Regions from separate parts of the Homo sapiens genome. Here regions 2, 3, 4 and 5 are each linked to region 1. Evidence: promoter capture Hi-C in 16 types of primary human blood cells and fetal thymus (Javierre and others, 2016). All regions are on one chromosome and are shown on one strand. The core of a region is centred on a gene start or on the middle of the fragment in contact, and the rest is flanking DNA. Distances in the headings are between cores, read along the strand shown. Region 1 holds the start of SDHAF3 (succinate dehydrogenase complex assembly factor 3). Region 2 holds the start of ORC5 (origin recognition complex subunit 5). Region 3 holds the start of DNAJC2 (DnaJ heat shock protein family (Hsp40) member C2). Region 4 holds the start of NAPEPLD (N-acyl phosphatidylethanolamine phospholipase D). Region 5 holds the start of FBXL13 (F-box and leucine rich repeat protein 13).

What was found. Contacts are between HindIII fragments. The CHiCAGO score rates a contact against its expected background, and 5 or more counts as called.
Region 2: the fragment with the promoter of ORC5 here is called in contact with a fragment that was not itself captured in region 1 in 1 of 17 cell types (naive CD8 T cells); the score reaches 8.0 in naive CD8 T cells.
Region 3: a contact is called between the fragment with the promoter of DNAJC2 here and a fragment that was not itself captured in region 1, in 1 of 17 cell types (naive CD8 T cells). The highest score is 7.0, in naive CD8 T cells.
Region 4: the fragment with the promoter of NAPEPLD here is called in contact with a fragment that was not itself captured in region 1 in 4 of 17 cell types (non-activated CD4 T cells, activated CD4 T cells, naive CD8 T cells and 1 more); the score reaches 12.2 in non-activated CD4 T cells.
Region 5: a contact is called between the fragment with the promoter of FBXL13 here and a fragment that was not itself captured in region 1, in 1 of 17 cell types (non-activated CD4 T cells). The highest score is 6.7, in non-activated CD4 T cells.

Annotation. Positions count from the first base shown.
Region 1 is chr7:97,116,653-97,119,525 of GRCh38, forward strand. It overlaps SDHAF3 (succinate dehydrogenase complex assembly factor 3), which reads left to right and starts at 1,046. Exons shown (of 2, transcript NM_020186.3): 1 at 1,046-1,245. The coding sequence starts at 1,072. RefSeq lists enhancers at 704-783, 1,134-1,223. The HindIII fragment of the contact is 1,525 bases long and covers 687-2,211 here.
Region 2 is chr7:104,206,539-104,209,411 of GRCh38, forward strand. ORC5 (origin recognition complex subunit 5) reads right to left here and starts at 1,475. Exons shown (of 14, transcript NM_002553.4): 1 at 1,295-1,475. The coding sequence starts at 1,366. RefSeq lists enhancers at 1,134-1,323, 1,364-1,443, 1,494-1,653. The HindIII fragment of the contact is 7,936 bases long and covers 1-1,991 here.
Region 3 is chr7:103,343,256-103,346,128 of GRCh38, forward strand. DNAJC2 (DnaJ heat shock protein family (Hsp40) member C2) reads right to left here and starts at 1,512. Exons shown (of 17, transcript NM_014377.3): 1 at 1,304-1,512. The coding sequence starts at 1,367. It also overlaps a transcript of PMPCB not described here. RefSeq lists an enhancer at 1,455-1,694. The HindIII fragment of the contact is 5,590 bases long and covers 927-2,873 here.
Region 4 is chr7:103,147,679-103,150,551 of GRCh38, forward strand. NAPEPLD (N-acyl phosphatidylethanolamine phospholipase D) reads right to left here and starts at 1,421. Exons shown (of 5, transcript NM_001122838.3): 1 at 1,133-1,421. LOC105375434 reads left to right here. Exons shown (of 3, transcript XM_047421168.1): 2 at 1,340-2,873. The coding sequence ends at 2,142. The HindIII fragment of the contact is 3,849 bases long and covers 1-2,567 here.
Region 5 is chr7:103,073,288-103,076,160 of GRCh38, forward strand. FBXL13 (F-box and leucine rich repeat protein 13) reads right to left here and starts at 1,509. Exons shown (of 21, transcript NM_001394494.2): 1 at 1,409-1,509. The coding sequence starts at 1,483. It overlaps ARMC10 (armadillo repeat containing 10), which reads left to right and starts at 1,853. Exons shown (of 7, transcript NM_031905.5): 1 at 1,853-2,124; 2 at 2,490-2,594. The coding sequence starts at 1,986. RefSeq lists a silencer at 1,440-2,279 and an enhancer at 2,550-2,599. The HindIII fragment of the contact is 4,996 bases long and covers 1-2,394 here.

The DNA.
Region 1 (2,873 bases), core at 199-2,698:
TACATACTAAGTTAGGTTGCAGTTCCCTACATAGCAACTCAGAGTAGGGAGGAAATTTTAGGCCAAATTTAATTTAAATTATGTTGGAGCATGACCAAAGTTGGTCATGACCAGAAGCTGAACACAGATATGGAAGCTAACACAATATCCAGTGGAGAGAGATTGTGGTAGAGTACATGGGGCGAAATGGTTGATTTCTGCATTTTTGTTGGTGACGCCATCAGGATTTGCTGAAGAACCAAACGTGTGACAGGAAAGGACAACACAAGGAGCTGCCAGCTTTGGAAACCAGTTCTACTCTCAGTATTACCTTCGCAAAAGATAGAGCTTTGTAAATTTCTAGATTCCTCGTTCTTATTATCCTAGACTATTTAACCAGAATCTCCAGGGTCGTGGTCCTGGAAACAATACGTTTAAAACTCTTCCCAAGGATCCTTCAGCAGCCAACTTGACTTTGGCTAAGGAGTCCGCCAGCTCTGGGCTCACTTGGGTTGTTTGCAAGGAAGAGCCCATGCCCAGAGTATAAATTGGGAGAACAGCGCTGTGCAAAGAGCGTGGGTTGGTGAGCTAGTGGATGGCGAGATTAATCTCACTCTGATCCCTAAAGCAGGGTGCAGTAATACTCTAAATGCCTCAAATGGGTTGGGAACCATGGAAGGAATCCCGGAGGAGCCCGATCTTAACGAAGCTTTTCTCAGGCCTTTGGTAGGAGGACAGAAACGAAGTTGAATGAAAAAGACAGTGGAGTGGGACTGAGAAATGACAACGGCCCACCACAGACCTCTCTCTTTCAAGGCCTGTGTCGTCAGGACGCAGGCCAGAAGAAGCCACGACGAGGCGCAGGCGCGACTCCACGAGGGCCACGCCCCTCCTAGAGAAGGACCGACCCGTTTTCCGCCCGCAGCGGAGCTTGGGTTTCCGGGAGGACCTGATTGTGCAAGGGACCAAACCGGATAGAGGTCGCGCGCCCTCTTTCGTCTGCCTTCCGGTTCACTAATACGCAAGTTCGCAGAAGTGCGGGAACGCGCCGTCCCTCTGCGCAGGCGCAGTCGGCGGTCGGCGTGGGGCGCTATGCCGGGGCGGCACGTTTCTCGAGTCCGGGCATTGTACAAGCGCGTCTTGCAGCTGCACCGTGTTCTGCCCCCGGACCTCAAATCCCTGGGCGACCAGTACGTGAAAGACGAATTTAGGAGACATAAGACCGTTGGTTCTGACGAGGCACAGCGTTTCTTGCAAGAATGGGAGGCAAGTGACGCTCCCTTCTCTTTGCCCAAGACCTTTGGGGTTCCTCGGTGTCCAGGTTTCTAGTTCCAGTCCCCCATGCGGGGTTAAACAGAGCAGCAACCTGTTCTGTTTGAAATAGCGTAATGCTGTTCAGGTAACACTTTCCAAAGTTTCTCCCACGGGTTTCTCACTAGAGCAGATCCTGTTACTTCAGCGTCCCCAATTCAGTTCAACTTTTGAGCTCCTGCAGATGCCAGGTGCTCAAAGGGTGAGGGTAGGAGGTCACAAAAATGAGCAAGTCGTCGTTAAGTGCTCAAAAACCTCAGGAGCTTTTTGTCCTTTTAAGTGCCTTTGCACCTAGTAAGCGCCCATTAATAAATTAATGGTTCTCTTATTAGTTTTCAAATTTAAAGGCTTATTTCCGTAATTTATTATTTAATCTCAGCGCTTTTGGTTGGGTTTAAATAATTTTCTCACTTGGCTGATACAGAAATCAGGTAACATGAAAAAGATTACAAAAGGTTGGAGATTACAAACTGTGAAGGAGAAAAATGCTGGTGGCAGTTAAGTCAGGCGAAAGTTGTTTCCTCCGGTCTCAAGTCATTGTTACTTCGCCCTGCACCATTGCGCTAAATATTAAACAGACACATGCATTAGCAATAAGTCGTTTGACTTTTTTTTTTTTTTTTTGAGTAAAGGAAAAAAGATATTCAGAGTATTTCGTGGGGCTCGGGGCCCTGCAGGATTGCCCCTAGTTTTCATTTGCAAATATAAATAAATGAATGGAATTAGAGATTGGAATGACAGCTCAGATATTTGAAAGCATGAGTTGGAGCTGATATGAAAATAGAGGTAAGCGGTTCTTCGGCCTAAATAGTTGAAGGGGAGATGACTGAAGTCGGCTTTGTAAAAAAAAATCAAAAGAATGGTTAGGGTGAACACAAACTTTGCACTGACTTCCAGAATTCTTTTTTGTATAATTATTGAAGCTTTTAAGAGCGACATTTAGAACAATCGGGAAATTTAGAACTTTCTTGAAAATCATGGTGTATTTGATGTAATTCGCTTGCCTGAAGCAGGGAAGTTGAAGCTTTTCAGACACAGAGCACTTTATTTTAATAAGGTAATTTGGTTTTGGAGCCTGAAGAACTGGATTCAGATTCAGTCTCTGACATTTTAAGTGTCAGATCACATAATTTTTCTAGTCTTATTTTCTCATCTATAAAATAATAAGTGTTTATGCATCTCAAAATTTACGTATGTAAATGTATTTACAAGCACTTGTGTATTGCTAATTGTTATGAAGCTATAAGATACTGTATTAAAGTATTTTACATCTTTTATGGTAGGTCATTTTGTGGCCGTACAGGAAGGAGAGTAGCTCTCTGTTGGGAGGAAATAAGGTTATTTTAAGAAGTCTTAAAATGTAAGCACATGGAAGCCTCTTTGGGAAAAAGTAGGAAAGAGTAGCAACTCAGAAAAAATTGATAATAGGTTGTAGGAGAGAGAGAGGGTATAAAAAAGAACTGCATAAATAAAAAATGTGTTAGTTGACCTAGTAGGCTTGGTAACTGGGATTGAGCTTTTTAAAACTTGGAATAATTTTAGACATACAGAAGAGTTAGAAAGACAGTAGAGAGTTCCCTACA
Region 2 (2,873 bases), core at 225-2,724, 7.1 Mb after region 1:
AACTATAATTGAAAGCAGTATAAATAGAAAATTAATTGAAGATGCAGTTGTTGACCTCTAACTTCCCTAAATAATGCACCCCTTTAGACAGAGGGTAGTACTTTTCCACTAATGCTTCACAGGCCACCTCAAATTGCCATGCAATATTTCTAGTTGGATGAAAGTACAGTCACGTGTACATTCAAAGATGGACCACATATACAACAGTGATCTCATAAGATTATAATACCCTATTTTCACTGTACCTTTTCTATGTTTAGACACTTTTAGATGCAGACTTATCACTGTGTTACAACTGCCTACAGTATTCAGTATAGTAGCACCGCTGTAGAGGTTTATAGCCTAGGAGGAACAGGCTACACCATACAGCCTAGGTGTATAGCAGGCTACACCATCTAGGTTTGTGTAAATACACTTTCTGATATTCACAGGGATTAAATTGCCTAACGATGCATTTCTCAGGACGTATCCCCCTCACTAAGTGGCAGCAACGCATGACTGTACTTAAAAAAGCAAACCAGAAGATGGGGGTATGAGTATGACCCTGAATTCTCATTCACTCTCTTCGCAGGTAAGATCCAAGTTTGATTAATTCCAATTCTGATTGAGTCTGAATCAAAAAGCACATCAAAGACCACCAGAAAATAGTCAAAAATAGGTTAAATTTTGAATTGGTGAACGCTACCCTCTGCCTATTGAAAGGACTCCCTACGTATCTATGTTCATCCAGACAAGACAAACTCCTCTCTAGGGCATCCTGTGAACTATCAGTTAAGGAGAAAAGTTTACCCTAGACCTCTTCTGGACTGTTACAATTCTGGAAAAGCCAGTAAATTTTTAAACCTGAAGCACTGCTTTGGCCCTTAGTGGCCTTGAAAGCAACCACCTCTCTACACTTGACTCACTCCAACTACCGCACAGAAACGTGTGAACTTACATTTGAATAAATAACACCCTGCAAACACATCTGTTACATAAATGTCATTGGGTTGGGGTAAGATAACAAGCAACTTCTAGGAGCTAATGTGGGCAAACTTCTGAAAAGTGTGGCGTGTTTCAAATACGTCTTAGGCAACGTCCTATAGTGCAGGCCGGTCGCTCTCAGACTGTCTCCTCTTCAATATTCGGAAGAGACTGTGGGTGAAGCTGCAGTACAGAACCACAACACCCCTATTTAACGTAAAAACGGCCTTTTGGCCCTCAATCCAAACACGAAAAAACAAATATTGGAACAGGTCGCAAGACTACCGAAACGTCTGCCTCCAGGATCTGGAAGACAGTTTAACTACAATACCTCTCCAAACAAGGACTGCAAGATGGACACTTGAGACTCGCGACAAAGCACCACGTTTTCCAAGTGGGGCATTCTGGCAGGCACCACCGCAGAGGCCAGTGCAGCCAGCCCACAGGACCCTTGCACAAGACGGAGCCTCTCCCGAGTCTGGCGGCCCACGCTCCCGCCGGAAACCGGACCCGCAGCGTCGTGGGAGGAGCCTGCGCTGCCGGGCTGCGGCGTGACGGCAGCGCGTACGCCGAGCGTCGCCGCCGCTCTAGTCTCAGGGCCGGAACCATCCTCTTCTCGCTGGTCCTGTGCGCGCCGAGGTTTTGCCCATTCTTGGGCTTGGTGGGGATTTCGGGCTGACGCTTTTTCCACTCAAAGGCTAAGGAGACGACATGGAGATGGGCGAATAGGGAAGGGGTGGAAGGGGTTAAGGGGGTCCCGTGGGCCTCCAATGACCCCTGAACCCCGTGCCTTTAGTTTTACCGGCTGGAAGCCCCAAGTTTAGAAACCTTGAGTGCCTAAGAAGACGGACCCGGAGCTGGGGCCCTTAGAGGGACGTGGAAGGCGGACTTAGAAGACTAATATTGTCAAAAGATGTTTTTGTTGTCGTTTTTTTCCCTGACGACGTTGTGGGAAATTAGTGGCATTGAGTACAAAACAGGGTGTAATGGGGTTTAATGCACAGCTTGGAATTACTATTTTTTGTGCAAGCTTTAAACCAGATGTGGAAAGCCTCTCAGTCCTAATGGGATGAAGTCGTAGTGTGTGTTGGTGAGGTTGATAGTAAAAATAATGCTACTTTTAGCATTAGGCTTTCACGTGTATTTATTTGTGAGGCACCTACTAGCGACTAAACACTAGAAGATTCTGGAAATAAGATACAGAAGTAGGCAAGTGCATGGTGGAAAGAGAGCTTGGCGTCCTGAAACCCCTGGGTTGGGACCACTGACTGACTCAACTGCTGAATAGGGGGACTTTGGAATAGTTGAGCCTCAACTTCCTTATCTATAAAATAGGGATAATACTGGCTAGGTTATTGCTAGGAGTAGAAGATCCTGTACATACTACCTGTTATACATAAATTTAAATTGTGGACTTCAATCTGCCCATAGATTGTAGATCAGTCTTAGATTTGTGATGGTCAAAAGGATCTTTTGAGAGTTGTGGTATATAACGTATTAGCTAGTCAAAATAGTATTTTCACAGCAACAATTCAAAAGCATTTGCCCAGGTACTTTTTAATAGAGAATTCTAAAGGTTATAATGGGACCACCCATTAAATTTCAATGTCTCCAAGGGAAGCTGGCCTCTGATACTCTCCTAAGATGGTTATACGTCCGTAACATACTGTGCATATAAGGTATACATATATTATAATCATAACACGACATCTTTATAGCATTCAATAAAACTGACTAAACTGTCTAAAATGTTAGTCTCCCTCTCTATATACTTTATGAGGACAGGAAACACTGTCTTCACAGTTCAATTTCCAGCATACACAGTTAACGCCTGGCAGTTACATAATAAAGATAATTGTTGATCTGAGAGAACATGCCTTACCATCTGGATGATTTAGGATGGTTTCTCA
Region 3 (2,873 bases), core at 262-2,761, 6.2 Mb after region 1:
CTCCCAAAGTGCTGGGATTATAGACGTGAGCCACCGCACCCAGACAACTCAAACTGTCTTAATTATTAAAATCTTGAATATAGCTCTTAAAAATTTTAAGAATTCACTAACAAGAATTTGTCCTGAAAGCAATTTTCCAAGCAGCAAATGGGAATTTACTAATGCAGCTAAGCTGTAGTGGAACAAGCTCTCAATCTGAAACCAGACACTCTGGGTTTTAGACTAGGTCTGACAGTGGCTATGTGACCTGAAATGAATCAGGATGTCTTCACCTGTAAAATGGGAACAATACCTATTTATCTCATTCAGTTCCTAGGAAGCTTGAATGAGACCACAGAAACTCTCTGAAATTACAAACTTGTAGTAAAGGTATCATCTATTCCTGGGAAGTGGGGGTAAATCACTGTACATGTGTATACTAGCAATTCAAAAAAGGAAAATCCCTGAACAACTTATTTTAAGATTTCCTCCACCTTACACAGGAGAGGATTAAAACACTGTCAAAAAGGTACTACCTGTGTAGTATGGGTGTGTGGCTTTTAAGAACACTGCCTTTTAAGCCTTTTGCTCTAGTTGTAAGAGGCACACGGAGACACATAAATGCAACACGTGCCATGGGTTATGTTCAAAATCACATTCAACAAGCGCCTATGTGACTGGCTATGGGAATTACTGTAGATCACTGGACCTGAAGACTCTTAAGTTTACAATACTCATGACTGTCCTGGGCCATAAAACTAAAACCTACAGCAGCAGGACAAGTTTCACTTGTAATAACTGCCTTTCAAAGTCTACGCGGATCTTTTCAGCAGCACAGTCTTTGAACACCGAGTATGAGGAGCGGTGTCTGAGTTGTGACATTTAAAAAACAAGGCCGGAGCAAACGTAGAGAGGGAGAAAGTTGTTTAAGAGAGCGCCAGTAGCAAAGCTTTGTACGACCCCAGGCACGTGGGGTGCTCGCTGCGCGTAGTCTTTCCACCGTAGGCAAGGAGATGCTTATGAGAACCTTTCTGGGGTGCTGGGGGGTTCCGTCCCGAAATGCTCAGCCCAATCCATGAGTCAGCAGCGGCGAGAGGAGGAAGCAACGGTAGGAGCAAAAGGAAGGCACCCCTCACCCTCCTTCCTTCTAATCTAGGGTAGGATTACTTTAAAACACGGAGCAAAAAGGCACTCGTCACGGCCCCATACGGCCCCGGGGCTAGTCGCCAGGGTCAAGGGTAGAGAGAGCCCAGGGTTGCCGAGGCGGAGGACTGAGGCAGGGGCAGCTGAGGTGAGAAGGAACCGAGGTTGGGTGGGCACTTACCAGAGGTCAGAGCGTGGGTGATGGCGGTGCCCCGGCCGTCCGCGGCGCTTGGCAGAAGCAGCATGATGGCGCCGGGTCTAGCCCGGTGGGCGCAGCGGCTCACGTCCCGGGCGGAGGGCGCTTAGGGTCCCCTCCAGCTCTACCTCTCACTCCGAGCCTCGCGCCTTGGCTCTAAGACGCCCAGGAACCGGCGCATGGAGACGACCAGTAAGCACTTCCGGGATGGATCTTTCGTGGTGTGGAGGCCAGTCTCACACCCTCCCACCCCCGCCAACGTGTGCGGTAACCTAGTTCTATACTGACTGAGATCCGGCTGGAGACCAAGTCGCACGAGAGAATGGTTCCTAGGCGCATCAGTTTTCCTGTAAAAAGGATTATATTCCACGTCCCAGTGCAATACATAGAACATAACCTTTAAAAGCAGTTCTTTTTATATTATCTTTAAGTTCTTACTGCTTTATGTATTAATCTGAACCTAATCAGTGATTTTCCCAGGAGCGCTATACTTTTAAGTAAAAAATGAAAATACCTGTATGAACCAGTATCGACGACTAGTATATACATTTGCGGAGAATTACGTACGTGTATTTGTGATACATTTGTGTTTAACTTGATGATGATAATAGCAGCTAATATTTGTCGTGCTATTACTAATTTACCTGCATTATATCTTTTAATACTCGCTTGGAGAAGAAACCTCTCTCTAGTGTGTTAGATTGTATTCCAAGGCCAGCAATATTTTTACCTTGTTCTAATGAAGTTTTTATTCAAGATATTCCCAATTATAGGACTCTGGGACTTAATTTTTTAATGTATAATAAAATCAATTGTATTCCTACTATATGCTTCCTTCTAAGACTGCAGTCAAAAGCAAAAACTAGCAAAAACAAACAGTGGGTAAAGGCTCACCCCCAACAGCAGTATCTGAAACAGGTTCAATAAAATAAACTTGATATGCCACTCTTTAGCAAGGACCACCAGAAATTAGTAAATTAGAAAATAACTTACTAATTTCATTATATTTTCACAATTAAAGTTTTTAAATATATTATATATATATATATGTATATTTTTTTTTGTAGAGACAGGGTCTCACTATGTTGCCCAAGGTGGTCTTGAACTCCTGGCCTCAAGGGATCCTCCTGCCTCAGTCTCCCAAAACTCTGGGATTAGAGGCGTGAGTCACTGTGCCAGGCCAATTAAATACATTTAATTGGTCTGTATATCTGCTGCATGATAAAATTGTCACTTCAAAACTGACTTTTCAAAAATTGAACTAAGGGAGGCTGAGGTGGGAAGATCGTTGAGGCCGGGAGGTGGAGGTTGCAGTGAGCTGAGATCACACCATTGCGCTCCAGCCTGGGTAACAGTGAGACCCCGTCTTTAAAAAAAAAAAAATTGAACTAATCTTCTGCCCCAAAACCTCTTCCTGATCCCTACTAATGCAACCACTGTTAAAACATGCTCCAAGGTGCAAAGTAACCTGACTCCACTTTCTTCATATTAATATATTTTTTTCCTCACACCTCCTCCCATTCAATTTTACCATTAACTCTAACATGGGTTTTTG
Region 4 (2,873 bases), core at 171-2,670, 6.0 Mb after region 1:
ATGTTCTTCATATAGTTATAACTGGACTAATTTTAAAATTAGAATTTTGTAACATAGAATTTCTACAATATAATTTGGAATTCTGAGTGAAAATAAGGGTATGAGAAATACACTAAGTATTTTTATCTCTTGGAGACTTACCATAATTCTTGTAGCAGGAAAGCCTGCAGAATGTTAACAAAACAAAATCTCTGAAAATCCTGACTATATTTTCAGTTGACTTGAAACAAATTTAACCCCTCAATCTCTCCTTAAATTATTATTTTAAATAAGTACTTTTACCCTAAATTTCTTCTTTAACAGACCCAGTATTTTCTTGCAACAAAAATCACACTATTGTGGGATATAGGTAATCTTCTTTTTAAAGATTACATAACTTCTTTCTAAACGATGTCCATGTCTGCGGCTAATTCATAACCAATGTAACTGAAAATAGAAATGGAAATGTTAGAGATTTCCATTTTTTAACAAACATGGGAATTATTTCTCAATTTGAAGAACTGCATCTCAGGAATGACTTCCTGGACAAATTAATCAGAATTATCAAGTAGCAAACATTTCATGCTAAGCCAAAGCCAACCAGGTGAGTCAGTCATATTATAACATGTATATATAACAACGTACAGTAAAGGCAAAGACAAGAACTAAATGACTTTTTAAAAGGCTGTTAAACTTTACTCACTCCCTTAATATTTTCCAGGTTTAACTGACGTATAATGAATGCATGTGATCCCGGAACCCATGGAAGAGTATCTACCATATCGAGCTCTAGCTTGAAAAAAAAAAAAAAGGAAAAAACAAACAAACAAAACAACAACAACAAAAACCTATCTGAATACGTGTTCTGAAAAGCCCACAATAATACCCAATTTATAAGAAGCAAACAACCACAGAACAGAAAACTCAAGAAAGCACAGCCTTCCACCACCCCTCCCCAGCTAGCCCCATTTTTTTTTTTGCTCTTCATTTCCATTCCATAGTTAAATAAGTACACTTATTCCAAAATAAAAGGGGAGAAACCTGTTGGAATGGATTTTTAGAAGATAAACACTATAGATGAAGCAACAATAAGTTGCTCGGAGGAAGTTGTCGACCCATTCATTTACATACAACCAAAAGAAGATAAACCCACATGTATTCCTATCAGTGAAGATGCAACCTGGTAATTTGCAGGGAAGATAGGATCTCAAATCCCAGACAGCTACTCTCCCAAAGAGAAAAAAAATAATGCTGTGGCTCTTCACCGAGGCAGCTTCAGAGATGCAGGCTCCGCAACTCGCGAGGTGCGAAAATTCAAATGAAGCCCTGTCGCTCACAAGTGCGGCATCTCCGAGATGAGGGAGGGCTCGGGGACGGGAAACCCACTCTCAGCCCGCTCCACTTCGCCGAAGAATTCCAAACCACCCCAGGCTCAGCAGTGTGGATTGCTCCGCCCAGAGACCGTGGAGGAGGCAGCAGAGAGGTCACAGAGCACAGCAGGCGGGAGAAAACCGCCTCCCGCGAGGTCCAACAGAAACCACGGAGCTCCGGACACTCGGGATCCCGGGCCGCGGGCGCGCGGCCAGAGCGGCGGGGTGCGAGCGCGGGGGTGCGGACTCACCTCGCGCTTGGGGTGGCCGGGAGCGCGCGCCGCCTCAGTTCCGCGGCTTCCGGCCACAGAGTCCCCGCGCAAAGCGCCGCCGCGTAGCGGGAGGGGCGACCGCGGCAGGCGCTCGGGTTCTTCCTAACCCGAGCCCGCCGCGCTGGCTCCGCCGAGGACGCCAGCAGCTGCAGGCAGCGCTTCAGCTCTCGCCGCCTCGCCATCGTTGGGGCGAGTCGTCGCCGGGTCACTCCCTTATTATGACCTTCGAATCTGACAGCAGGGCCAGCGGTGGCCTCCTTCAGGCTGCCTCTCCAGCCCTTACCAAGATGGCCGCCCCTGTGGGCCGGGGCGCCGAAGCCATCTTGGTAAAGGAAGCGCCTGGGAGCACGCGGCCTGCCCCGGCCCGCCTCGCGACTCAAACACTCTGCAGGGACCCTCCTAAGATCAAATTGGTTCCCCCCGCTGTCCTAAGCCAGAGGCTTACTTTCAGATCGCATGAACGCATTCCTGGACACCAGCCACAGTTGCTAAAACTAAATGGGATCCTGCAGACCCATTGACGGACTGTCATAGCCAACTCAATCACAGTCGAGAAGCATTTGAATACTTACAGCCTATGGCGCTAGGATCCTGGTAGCGAAGAAACTAAACTCTAATTTGAAATGTTGTACAGTACGTATTGAATATTAATGGGAGCACGGCATTGTTCACTGTGTGATCGTTTACTTTTAAAATGATGTCACAGCCCCCTGGTACACACGGTTCTCATCTAAATTTGCATCTTTTTTAACGCTAGGATAACTATGAAAGAGCATACGATTGTGATTCTGAGTTTCTTACTGGATTTGCTTTTTAAACTGCAGAATGAAATTAGTTGTTTCAAGAAGTAAAGTACAGGCATGTCGAAGTAAAATTCAACAATGGGTTGTTGGGCAAAAAGATTATAAAAGTCCTGGGGTGTGCCAGGGTCAAAAAAAAAAAAAAAAGCTTGTCCCTGGGGTTATCTTGGCAAAAAAGAAACCACCACCACAGGTTCTAAATGCAGATAAGACTGGCAGAAAAATGCAGACCAAACTATTCTGCATTTTGAAAGTGAATGTGCCTGTGTGACATTGGAGGAATGTAAAGAACTGTATGTCAAGTGTGGACTTTATCTCCTCAGGCTAGCTTAGAGTGGCTGCTGAACTTAAGGGTGATTAAGAGCTGCTTGCACCTGGGTGGAGCTGAAACTGCATAAGGTGAATAATACCTTTGTGCAACAGAAGAAAAAAAAAAAAGTAACAGCATACAT
Region 5 (2,873 bases), core at 259-2,758, 6.0 Mb after region 1:
TGCTAAGCAACTTGCACTTTTTCTTTTTTACTTAATAATATGTGTTGGGAGCCAGCCATGTGGTGTATGCCTGTAGTCCTAGCTACTTGGGAGGATGAGGTGGGAGGATCAATTGAGCCCAGGAGTTTGAGGCTGCAGTGAGCTAGGATGGAGCCACTACACCCTAGCCTGGGTGGCAGACCAACACCCCGTGTCTCAATAATAATGATGATAATAATAATATGTCTTGGAGGACATTTCTTCTTAGTAGGTACAGATATACTTTATTCTACATAATGCCTCATTCGCTTAGTCACTCTAGGTCATTTACTATTTTTACTATGAAACAAAGTTATAATGAATATCCTTGTACATCCTCCTGAACACATGTGCAAGTATTTCTCTAAAGTAGATCCCTAGAAGTAGAAATGCTTGGTTAAAGGGTACATGTATTTAACATCTTAATAAATATTTCTCAATTACCATCCAAAAAAGAGACGGGTGGGGGGTCTCTACCAAATTGCCCTCCCAACCGCCTAGGAGCGTTACTACCCTCAGGTAGGACCTCCTCTTTCTTTCCCTAGACATCTCTCTCCCTCATTCTCCACATAACGTATCTTTGCTCGAACCTCCTACTGCACCAACATCCCCATCCCCACTCAAACACGCACATTCTTGGTAAATATCTCACCAACTATTTGTAGAGAAAAAAAGAGGTCAACAAAGGCAAATGTTCTCAGCTTCCTACCCCCAAACCTACAAAACCTAATGTCTATCCCCTTCCTGTCTTCCTTCCCTACTCTTATAACGGCAGTAGGAGGGCAGTCCTTCCTGTTGTCTAAAGGCAATCCTGGTTGAGAGGGTCCTTACCTTCACAAAGGGCTGACTACACTGACCAAAGGTCTCAGCTTCCACTCTTCCCTCCGCTAACCTCCATCTATTTTCTGCCCTCACGGCTCCATGGAAACCTCAGGCTCACCTTGGGCAGAATCCAGCTCCTTATCTTAGGTGACTAGTGCCTACTCCCTACTTCTGACAACATTCTTCATAATGCCAGTCTGCTGATTTTCCTCCTCAGGCTCTCTGGCACTTCTTTCTCACTCCTCCACTCCTCAGGTACTTCTTGTCCAAACCTTAAAATCTGAGTTTGGGGTTTCCGATCTGGGCCTTGTGCTCATTCCCCCTGGGAGATGTCACCCATTCCCCACGTGCAGCCACCATCACCCTCTGTTTTCTCTCTAATCAGCGTCTTCAGCCCTGATCGCCTACAAGTCCGAATTTGACTTCACTTTCTCGCATTCTGCCCCGCCTTCCCTCCACTCCTCCCCAATCCCGAAACCTAGTCCCTCCTCCGGGAAGTCTTTCCTGACTCCTCCCCCTTCTAACTCCCCACCGACGGTCTGTGTCCGCTGCCACGCGTGTCCAGTACCTCGCAGACCTGAGGAATGTAGTTCTCCTTGAAGTAGTTCTTCAGCCTCGGGTTGGCATTGCGTAGCGAGGCCATGGCCCAAGGCCTGACGGAGAAGCTGCGATAGTACCCTCCCCGCGCTGGGACTAGGGGCCGGGCGCGTGCGGGCGTTGTCCCGGCAACCAGGGGGCGGGGCTGGGCGTGGCACCGCCCCGCGCTCCGCTGCCAGGGGCGGGAGGGAGGAATGGTTGCTTCACGCCCCGGGGGAAGAGACGGGAAGCTCGGCTCTGGGTTGCGGGCCCCGGCGTCTCCGCGTGGGGCGCACCGTCCGACCCCCCCCTCCCGGTGTGCAGCGCCCCGCACCGCCCCGCCTCGCCTGGGAGAAGCCGCCGGGACGCGCCGGGCTGGAGTGGGCGGTTATAGGCTTTGAGCTAGGCCGTTTCCGGGAGGCGGAGCTCAGACCCCATTTCCTTTCTCCACATCCAGGTCAGGTGGCGTTTGCTGTGGCGGCTAGGCCCGCGTGCGCTGGAGACCTCCGCGCTGGCCCCCGCGAGCCTCCTGCCCTGGCCCGGCGCTGCGGCTCTGCCGCGGCGGCAGCATGGGTGGCCCCCGGGGCGCGGGCTGGGTGGCGGCGGGCCTGCTGCTCGGCGCGGGCGCCTGCTACTGCATTTACAGGCTGACCCGGGGTCGGCGGCGGGGCGACCGCGAGCTCGGGATACGCTCTTCGAAGTCCGCAGGTGGGACCCCGGGGTTTCCGGCAGGTGGGCGGGGACTGGGCAGGGGGGCTCCCCAGGCCGGGGTGGTGGCTTGCGTGTGCTCGGGGTAAAATGAGGAGCCGAGCTAGAGGGAGAGGCAGTACTTGTGTGAGTGCAGGGTGCTGCGCCGCCCCCGCCGCCCCTTTGCTGACTATACTGGTATGAAAACTTGCCCTGGCTTTCCTGCCTGAGCTCCGCGTCACAGCGGAGGATTAGATTTCTTAAAAACCTGTTGATGGCCTCTCATTTTAAAGCTTGCTCCGGGCCTTTGTGTAACTAAAGGGATTCTCCCGATTGTGGAAGGGCTGTTGAGGGGCCCAGAGCCATAGGTCAATCTCTGCTTGCAGGTGCCCTGGAAGAAGGGACGTCAGAGGGTCAGTTGTGCGGGCGCTCGGCCCGGCCTCAGACGGGAGGTACCTGGGAGTCACAGTGGTCCAAGACCTCGCAGCCTGGTGTGTGTTTTGGAAATGGGAACAGTTGTCTGCGCGAGACACACCCTCCCAGCGGACAAATGCATGATTCGGTTTCTGTCCAAAAGTTGATCGGTACATTAAAACCCTCCAAAGGCATGTTTCACATCATGGAAGCTGTTAGGGAAATAATTTAAAATATCATATCTGCCATCCAAGAAACTCCTGTCCACAATTGTAGAAGAGAGCTAAACAGCTTCATTGTTGAATAAGCACAAACTAAATTGCCTCACACATCACGGGCAATTTGCTAATGGGATA